2 separate regions of the Homo sapiens genome follow, and region 2 is linked to region 1. The links are contacts of gene promoters, found by promoter capture Hi-C in blood cells and fetal thymus (Javierre and others, 2016). All regions are on one chromosome and are shown on one strand. Each heading gives the region's core, a stretch centred on a gene start or on the middle of the fragment in contact. The rest is flanking DNA. Distances are from core to core; before and after follow the strand shown. Region 1 holds the start of PLD1 (phospholipase D1). Region 2 overlaps FNDC3B (fibronectin type III domain containing 3B).

Evidence for each region. Contacts are between HindIII fragments. The CHiCAGO score rates a contact against its expected background, and 5 or more counts as called.
Region 2: a contact is called between a fragment that was not itself captured here and the fragment with the promoter of PLD1 in region 1, in 1 of 17 cell types (neutrophils). The highest score is 7.6, in neutrophils.

What each region holds. Positions count from the first base shown.
Region 1 is chr3:171,809,170-171,813,511 of GRCh38, forward strand. PLD1 (phospholipase D1) reads right to left here and starts at 1,314. Exons shown (of 27, transcript NM_002662.5): 1 at 1,230-1,314. The HindIII fragment of the contact is 4,859 bases long and covers 1-2,607 here.
Region 2 is chr3:172,323,566-172,327,822 of GRCh38, forward strand. The region is part of intron 11 of FNDC3B (fibronectin type III domain containing 3B); the gene reads left to right. Among named protein-coding and RNA genes, the nearest start is that of GHSR, 120 kb to the right of the region's middle. The HindIII fragment of the contact is 8,157 bases long and covers 1-4,257 here.

The DNA.
Region 1 (4,342 bases), core at 64-2,563:
AGAAGCCAGACTGAGCGCTTATACAATTAGTCCAAAGATCCCCAAACAACATTTAAAGGCTGTCTACAAATTCAAGCTAAAAGACTGTGTACAAATTCATTTGTGTGTCACAAAACATTTAATACTGAAAGAGATTCTTATTCAAATAGGCAGTGTGTAAATGTGGGGTCTGTTAACAGTTCAAATTGCAGATTCCTTTCCTTCTTTAAGTTTTCATTGCACCACCACGAACTAAACCATTTAACATACCTCAGAGGTCTCTGGGTACCTAGTCTCTCAGAGGCCTTTGGAGGCCCACGAAGGCTTATCTTAACTAAAATTGGCAGGGCTGGCTGATAAAGTTAACGGAACTCCCCATTTTGGAGGCAGACTTAGTAATGGTCAAACGAAGAAACTGTTGTGGTCTGTTCTTAAAAAGCTACTAGTATTTAGTGCTTCACAGAGGAAGTAAAGAAAGCAATAATCCGAGATGAGGAGGAGCAAATACAGGCGTGGCGGTAGTTCAGGACTGAGTCTACAAGGGCGGTTCTCAAGGGCGTCACAAAATCCTATGGAAGGCTTGGAGGACGGCACTCCTGGATCTGAGCCCTACGTCCCAAACACCTTCAATCGTATTGTGAGGAAGAAGACCTTTTACACACTCCCTGCTGCTGGCCCCCGGCCCCCTCGCCCCACCTCCGAGTGGTCACATCACACGGCGGGAGCCGCGGTCAGCAGCTGTGATCACACCCCCAGGACCGTGCTCTGCGGGCTGGGCTCGAAGCCTTGGGACGCGGCACTTCCTGGTTGGTACGGGATGCCGGTCCCATCGCCCCCACCAGCCCAGTCATGCCACCGCGCACCCGAACCAAGGGCGCCCGGATGACCTGGGGACACCACACACACTGCACCCGAAGCCCTGTGGCGGCGAGGCGGTGCATCCTGCAGAGGACGCCTGGGCTTCAGCCTGAGCCTGCGCGGCTCTGCGCTCCAGGCAGCCGCCCGCGCGGCAAAAGTGCGTGCCAGAGTTGTCAGCTTTCACCCTGCAGGAATTCCACCCGAAGGCGTGCGAGGGAGGCCCTTGGGGATCGCTAGGGAGTCCGCCGCCGACTCACTCGCTGAAATCCCGTCCAAGTTGGGCGGGGAGCGGCCAGCTGCCCAGGTTGGGCGGAGGAGGGACGGAGGGCGAGGGCAGTGGAAACCCGGCTCCCACGGGCGCCCGGTGATCCGGGTCTCGGCGCGGCTCCTACCTGCAGGGCGAAGGGGCCGCTAGCACCTGCGCGTTGGCGGCGGACTCTCAGGGCTCGGGTGCCTCTGGCACAGCTGGAGCTCAGCGGGAGGGAGGGAGAGAGGGCGGGCCGGAGGGGGCTCTGCGCTGCGCGGCCGGCAGGAACTCTCCGCCCGGATTCGCCCCGGATTCGCAGGGGTGGAGCGAGGCGGTGCCAGGTCCCGGGGCGTCGCGGTGCCGGCTGGAGGCCCCAGCGGGGCAGGTCTCGCGACTGGGCCTCTGATCGCCCGCGTTCCTTGTTCTCTTTTCCCAAAGTTTCATAACTCGACCGCATCACCCTAGGGAATGCTCGCTATTAGGACCATTATCAGGTCCTCTCGAGCCGCCAAGGACCAGCCACCTTTCCCGGAGCTTTGCCTATGATATCTATTCTTCGACTACTGCGGATAGTAGCCACAACTGGTCCAACTTATAAGTAAGGAATCAGCAAATCAAACGGCTAAATAACTTGCCTGAGGTGACATAATTAAGAGACTGGAGCTTTGCTGGAGTCTTTATAAGCCTTCTTGCACCTCCTTAGGGAAGTGTTATCGCCAATTTACAGGTAAGGAAATGAAGGCTCAGAACCAGCCCGAGGTCACACAGCTTAGATGGAGGGGGACGGGAATTTGTGTCCCGATGTCTCTAAAACTGGTTATAATTCAGAAATCTTAGCATAAAATAATAAATTGGGAGCAAAACAGGGAAAAGACCCATTCCACCTATGGAACCGTTCAAACACGGCAATTTTGCTGTTTTCAGTCCACTTAGAATAAAGTCTTAAGAAAAAGAGAACCAGTTGTCATGTGGCTTGAATAGCAGCCCTTTGGGAATGTAATTTTGAATATAGGCCAGTTCCAACCTCATTACACGATATTGCATCCCGCCAAAGCCAGGGGAAGCAATGGCCTCCCCATGCACCAAACTGCTAATAACGTCAGCCACTTTAAAGCATTTAGTGGATATTACACAACTGCGACTGACCAAGTTACATAATGTCTTACTGCACACATGGCATTGCATGAAATGAAAAATATAATATACCAGTCCAAATTAGGGGAGGGGGGCCAAATTATAGTCTGGAACTCAGTTTTCCTGTAACCTACAGTTGCTCAGCCCTCCTTAGACCACATTTTTGTCTCTTGAGCACATCTTTTCCTAATGATAGAAGAGTCACACAGCCCTCACTCTTTCCTTGTTGACATAAATGATTGATGTCTTTTGAATCCTATGATACTGACAGATTTTTACAATTAAACACATGACTCTCTGAGCAGAGTATTGCCTAAGAGGAGTTTAGTAAGTTTCAGACAAGCATGTTACTGGAAGGCAGAATACCCTCTCTCCTCCCCTCTTTCTCAAGCTTTATTAGTCACAGATGGTCTGATAAGTCTTGTGCACACACGTAACTGCATTCTTACAAGCTTGTCTTTAGAAATTATAATGCTTTTGGTTGAGAAGCAGCAGTCTATAAAATTGCATCCCAAATTCTTAAGTGTCACTATGAAAACATTTGGCACTTGCCTCCAACAATAGGTCTTTCTACTAAATCTAATTAGAAATAAAATTATCAAGGCCAAGCGCAGTGGCTCACACCTGTAATCCCAACACTTTGGGAGGCCGAAGCGCGTTGATTACCTGAGGTCAGGAGCTCAAGACCAGTCTGGGCCACATGGCGAAACCCCGGCTCTACTAAAAATACAAAAATTAGCCGGAGGTGGAGGCAGGTTCCTGTAATCGAAGCTATTCGGGAGGCTGAGGCAGGAGGATTATTTGAACCTGGGAGGAGGAGGTTGCTGTGAGTTGAGATTGCACCACTGCATTCCAGCCTGGTGACACAGCAAGACTCTGTCTCAAAAAAAAAAAAGAAAGAAAGAAAGAAAGAAAATTATCTAAGTGCCCTTACAATAACTGAATTTCTGCCTCCCTGGGATAGAGGAATAAAATAGGAAATGCCATATGTTGTTTAGAGATGAACTGAAGCTTATGGACTCCCAAACATGAATTTTAGAAGTAGTATGATTTTGTATGTAATTATTTTATTTTCCTGAGAGATTTTGTGATTTTTCTTTCCAACTCTTTCATATCTTCAAAGATGTCAAGAAACAGTGACTAAGTAATCATGCTATACATTCATCTCAATATGCACTTGACATTTTTGTCAAAGTGGTATTTGAAATCCTTTTAATTGTTCTATTTTCTTCTGAGAATAAAAACATATATGTTCATTTTTATAATTTTAACATCTATATTTTAGAAAAAAAATTTTACATCTATGTTTTAGAGACCACAGAAAAACATTTTTAATTAAAATCACCTATAACTCCCACACACACACTCTCTATTAGCATTTAGTATATTTCCTTATTTTTTCTATGCCCAGAGGTTTGTTATAAAATTAACACCATGCTTTACAGAGTTTAGAATCTTCCTTATCTCACTAAGTATTTATAAATTGACTATTTTTTACTGTTATTAAACTTTCTTTAAGATATCATTTCTGTGGTTGAAGAATATTACAATCATTTATCAAATGTTTTAGGATATTTTCAGACTTTATTGCAGTTTACAAATCATGCTAGAATGAACACTACGTTGCATCATCTTTGTCAAGATCTCTACATCCTTAGGATAGATTCCTAAAAGTAGAAATACTGGATCAGCATTTAGAAACATTTTTAAGGTGCTGTGTGATGCTGCAAAAATACCCTCCAGTATTAAATATTGCCTTGCTTATAACCTGAAAATGTCACGAATCAAAATCATATCTTGTTTTAATCAACTTTTTTATAATCAGTAATGCTGAACACGATTTTTTCATGTTATTATTTGTACCATTTACTGAAAATGATCTATTCATGTCCATTACCTGTTCTTTTTCTATGGTAAATTAGTTTCTTGTTAATTTGCAATAATGCTTTCAACAGAAACAGAACTATTTTATCAAAGTGACATACAAATGGTGCTCCCCCAGATTTTCCCTTGTGGTACATTTGATACAAGCACTGCCATCCAGATCATCTAGTCATTTTGGGATACCAACATCTATCATCTTTTCTGACAGTTCCATTTTCTTATAGAAAATTACCTCTCCCC
Region 2 (4,257 bases), core at 122-2,621, 510 kb after region 1:
CTTGTGGGGGGAAAAAGAAAAAGTCTTTGTCCTGGAGATTATAATCACATCTTGGAGATGTTTTCAGGGGTTGATCATTCTCTGCTATGTAGCCACATAGTGCTTTTTATATACTCTCCAAGCTCCCTTCTCTTGCCCCTTTTTTTCTGTGTTTGGGGCCTTTCATAGTCTGGCAAAAAGTTGGAGGTTATTGCCATTCTTCAGAATTTAGCAGGACCCTGTAGGAACAAGAACAATATCTAGACTCCCATTATTAATTAGGACTTGAAACCAAAAATGCATGACCCTTCTAAAAAGTGAGTGAGGATGAGGATGAAGCAAAGGGGAGGCAGGTGCTCATAGAGTATGTAGTATTCTAAGCGTTACTAGGCTGGGACTTCCCCCCAAAGGTGATGACTTCCTTTAGTATGTGAATCTTGAAATGAAAGAGGCACTTACCCAGGTTCAGATAAATGAGGTGTCCAGCTTAGGGCAGGTGAACTCTGTGGTAAGAGTTATGATGACATCAGGGGACAGGTTTGCGCAAGGCACACTGGACGGAACATAGAGTAAGATGATCCAGTGGTGTCTAGAATGTGGATAATACCCAATGTATTTTTGTTTGATGATTGGAAAGGAGAAAGAGGCAAAGCCCTTTCTCCCTTCCCAGGCTTGGGAAGGGCTGATCTGATGCATGCTGTGAATATGAGTCGACTTACTGGCGAGCCAAGTCCTTTCCTGGAGAGCAGTTTTGACCAGAAGTGGTAGACAAAACACCCTCGTCCCTGGTTGGAAAACATTACCCCAGGGTGATGAATTGGTGCTCTCAGGCTAGGTCTGGGTGTGGAATGAAGATAGATAAGCAACAACTGTGAATTAGGTTGAGTGCGAAGAGGAACACTCAGCTTGGGAAAGGAAACAACCCACGTTTGCAATGCGTCATCCTGCGCCAGATTGAGCACCTCAAGGTTTGTCTGCACACAGTTGGTTTGTACTCCAAGATTTCTTCACATTGTAGTAAAGAAAGATTAACCTTGCCCTTGAATGAACTTGGTCTGAGCTGCAGAAACAAGCATTTGGGCATGCCCAAGGTTGCAAAATGGAAACAAGCCAGTGCACCCTGAAAATCTGCCCTTTTTTTGGCTCACAGACACTGGCAGTAGAAAGTTAGGCCAGAACTGGCTGGGGTTATATTGGTTCATGTCCAGTGAGGTCAGTAGCCCAGTGGCTAGGTCTGTTCCAGAATGATCAATGGTGTTCACTCTGACCAGTTTCTCTAATTCAGGTGAAGTATCTTTTCCATACCCCGCTGAGAACAGGGACTCCAGTGTCACCTTAGAGGTTCTGATCCTGACTGCTCATGTGCTGCGAACCTGACCCACCAACGCGCAGAGAAGCGGAGTGCAGCTAGGAGTCTCTTCCCTCAGCCCTGCGGACCAGCTGACTCCCAGGCCCTGGCAGCCCCTTTGAAAGCTCTTACTCTCCTCTGTGTGACACACCACAAGTGGCCTAGCAGCCGTAGCTGGCCAGGATTAGGCCTAAGTCATGGCTGTCCCTGCTGCCTGTGTGTGACCAGATCATTGATGACAACAGGTCTGAAAAGTGTCAGGATGTTACCCATTTCTACTGCAGCCATATTTTAGTAGGGAACTTTGAACAAGGCTGAATTTAAATTATTAACAACTAAGTTTCCGAAGTCAAGTCAGCGTATCTCAGTAATCCTGTGTAGTCTAAATTAGATTTTTTAAAGGCGGGAACGTGCCATAGATTATAATCTCTCAAAATCTCTGGGAGCCACACAGCATATAAAATATGAAAGTTGTCATTTACCATCTCTAAAACTTCACTGACAGGAATGATTTGGATATATTTAACTTCTGATAAACAATGATAAACATTCACTTTATCACTCCTGTCAGTTCGTATGAATCTTTCAGTCCTCTAAAGCATTAGCTCTTTTCTTTTTTAACTCCATTTCTGTCAACAAGAACAGGAAAATGTTTTGTTTATAAATGCTATTTGCAACCTGGGACCCATCTTGTTTTATGAACAGATTCTCCAAATCTTCTATGCCTTTGAACACGGACTTACTCTACTCTAATGCTTAAGCTCCAGAGCCGTCGGAGAGCCTGGCGCAGTAGACAGACCAGCACGCTGGCATCGGATCACTGGAGCCAGTGGCCTTCTCCAGTTCACTTGTTAACTTCTCAGCTGCAGATCACTTTTTGTACTGCAGTGACTTTTGTGAACATTAATTTTTTTCTTTCCAGATATGCATTTTATTTTATTTTATATTAGAGACAGAGTCTCGTTCTGTCACCCAGGCTGGAGTGCAGTGGCGTGATCTCGACTCACTGCAACCTCTGCCTCCCGGGTTCAAGCAATTCTCCTGCCTCAGCCTCCCAAGTAGCTGGGATTACAGGCGTCTACCACCACGCCTGGGTAATGTCTTTGTATTTTTAGTAGAGACGGTGTTTCACCATGTTGGCCAGGCTGGTTTCGAACTCCTGACCTCAAGTGATCCACCTCCCTCAGCCTCCCAAAGTGTTGGGATTACAGGCGTGAGCCATCACACCCCGCCCAGATATGCCTTTTGTATTAAACTTCATGTTATACATGAATATGTTCTTTTATTCAAAACTTCTCTCATGTCTGAAATATTTTAACCTACTTTCCCTTGTTTTTGTTTTATTCTCAATGACTTCTAAAAATTCATCAATAAGCCTTAATTCTTTTAACTGTCAAATATTTGTATTCTTACCTCTACAGACTCTACAGACAATGCTTCCAAAACTGAATTCCAGGGTTTTAACAACTCTGGATCTTTCTAGGTGTCCCTAAGTTTATGCACATAGTAGTACATCCTGGAAGTTGTTATGATAGAAAATTCGGCATGCTTTGTCTATATGGGTTGTAGTTTATATAGCAGTTGTTCCTGATTTTAACAATTGGTCCTGACTCCAAGATTTATGTTTTGTTTGTTTGTTTTTGAGATGGAGTCTTGTTCTGTCGCCCAGGCTGGAGTGCACTGGCGCCATTTTTACTTCTTTCACAAGTAGAATTTTTTTAAATGTTAGCAATATAGGAAGATGTCTTGAAGGTCACACAGTTCCCCTTCTCCTAATTCTTTAGTGAGCGTGAGTGCTCTGGCTCTCTTAAAAGTCATTTCTCCCCTTCGAACCCTCCCCAGTCTTTTTCTCGTTTGAGCCACAAACAGTCTGGTTTCTACTGTATTAAAGCAAATTAACCTAGTAAGAAACACTGACTTTTTTTTTACTGGCTACAGTTCTAAGCACAAGAAAAGGGGAAAGGAGACCAAATAAAGAAATAGGAAAAATGAGGCATTAAAGGGGAGCCAACACGGGGTTTGGAAGGGATGAGAGCTTCCGCCATGGCAGGATGGGCCTTTCTTGCACTGCTTACTCTGAGTTCAGAAATAGAGGAGGAAAGAAGGTAGATCATGCCACAGCCTGAAATGGATACGACACATACCAGGGCTCCCATAGAGTGTGATCGGATGCTGGGTGTAATTATTCAAGTGTATGCATTTGAATAAATCATCTTCCTCAACCTCAACACTCAAGGTTGAAGTAAGCATAGTGTGTGACATGCCAGCCACATAGTGAGTTCACTCAAGGAGCAACTGAGAAATGTCAGGCTTTACTTGCTGCACACCCCCAACTCGGCCACCAAGTTGCATCTGAATGCACCTTGAACCCTTGATAAAATGAACTTTCAATCTTAAAGACTGTTAGAACTCTCACTCCCTTCCATTGGGAAAGGTGCTTCCTGGCTCTAGGAGGTGGGTGGGGAAGGGGTTCCTTTGAGGAGGATGAATGTGGTGTGATTTTTTTGGGGGGCGGGGCGGGGCAGGAGGACGGAATCTCACTCTGTCGCCCACACTGGAGTGCAGTGGCGCGATCTCGGCTCACTGCGAGCTCCGTCTCCCAGGTTCACGCCATTCTCCCTCCTCAGCCCCCTGAGTAGCTGGGACTACCAGCACCCGCCACCAAGCCTGGCTAATTTTGTTTTTGTATTTTTAGTACAGATGTGGTTTCACTGTGTTAGCCAGGATGGTCTGGATCTCCTGACCTCGTGATCTGCCCGCCTCAACCTCCCAAAGTGCTGGGATTACAGGCGTGAGCCACCGCGCCCGGCCAGTGTGGTTGTTTTTAATGTGCTCACCGTAGCAACAGTCAGGCTAGTGGTGTGTTCATTTTATTTTTAATTAAAACCACCTGGAATGTGTTTTAGTGGTATTTGGAGACCTGCTGAAAG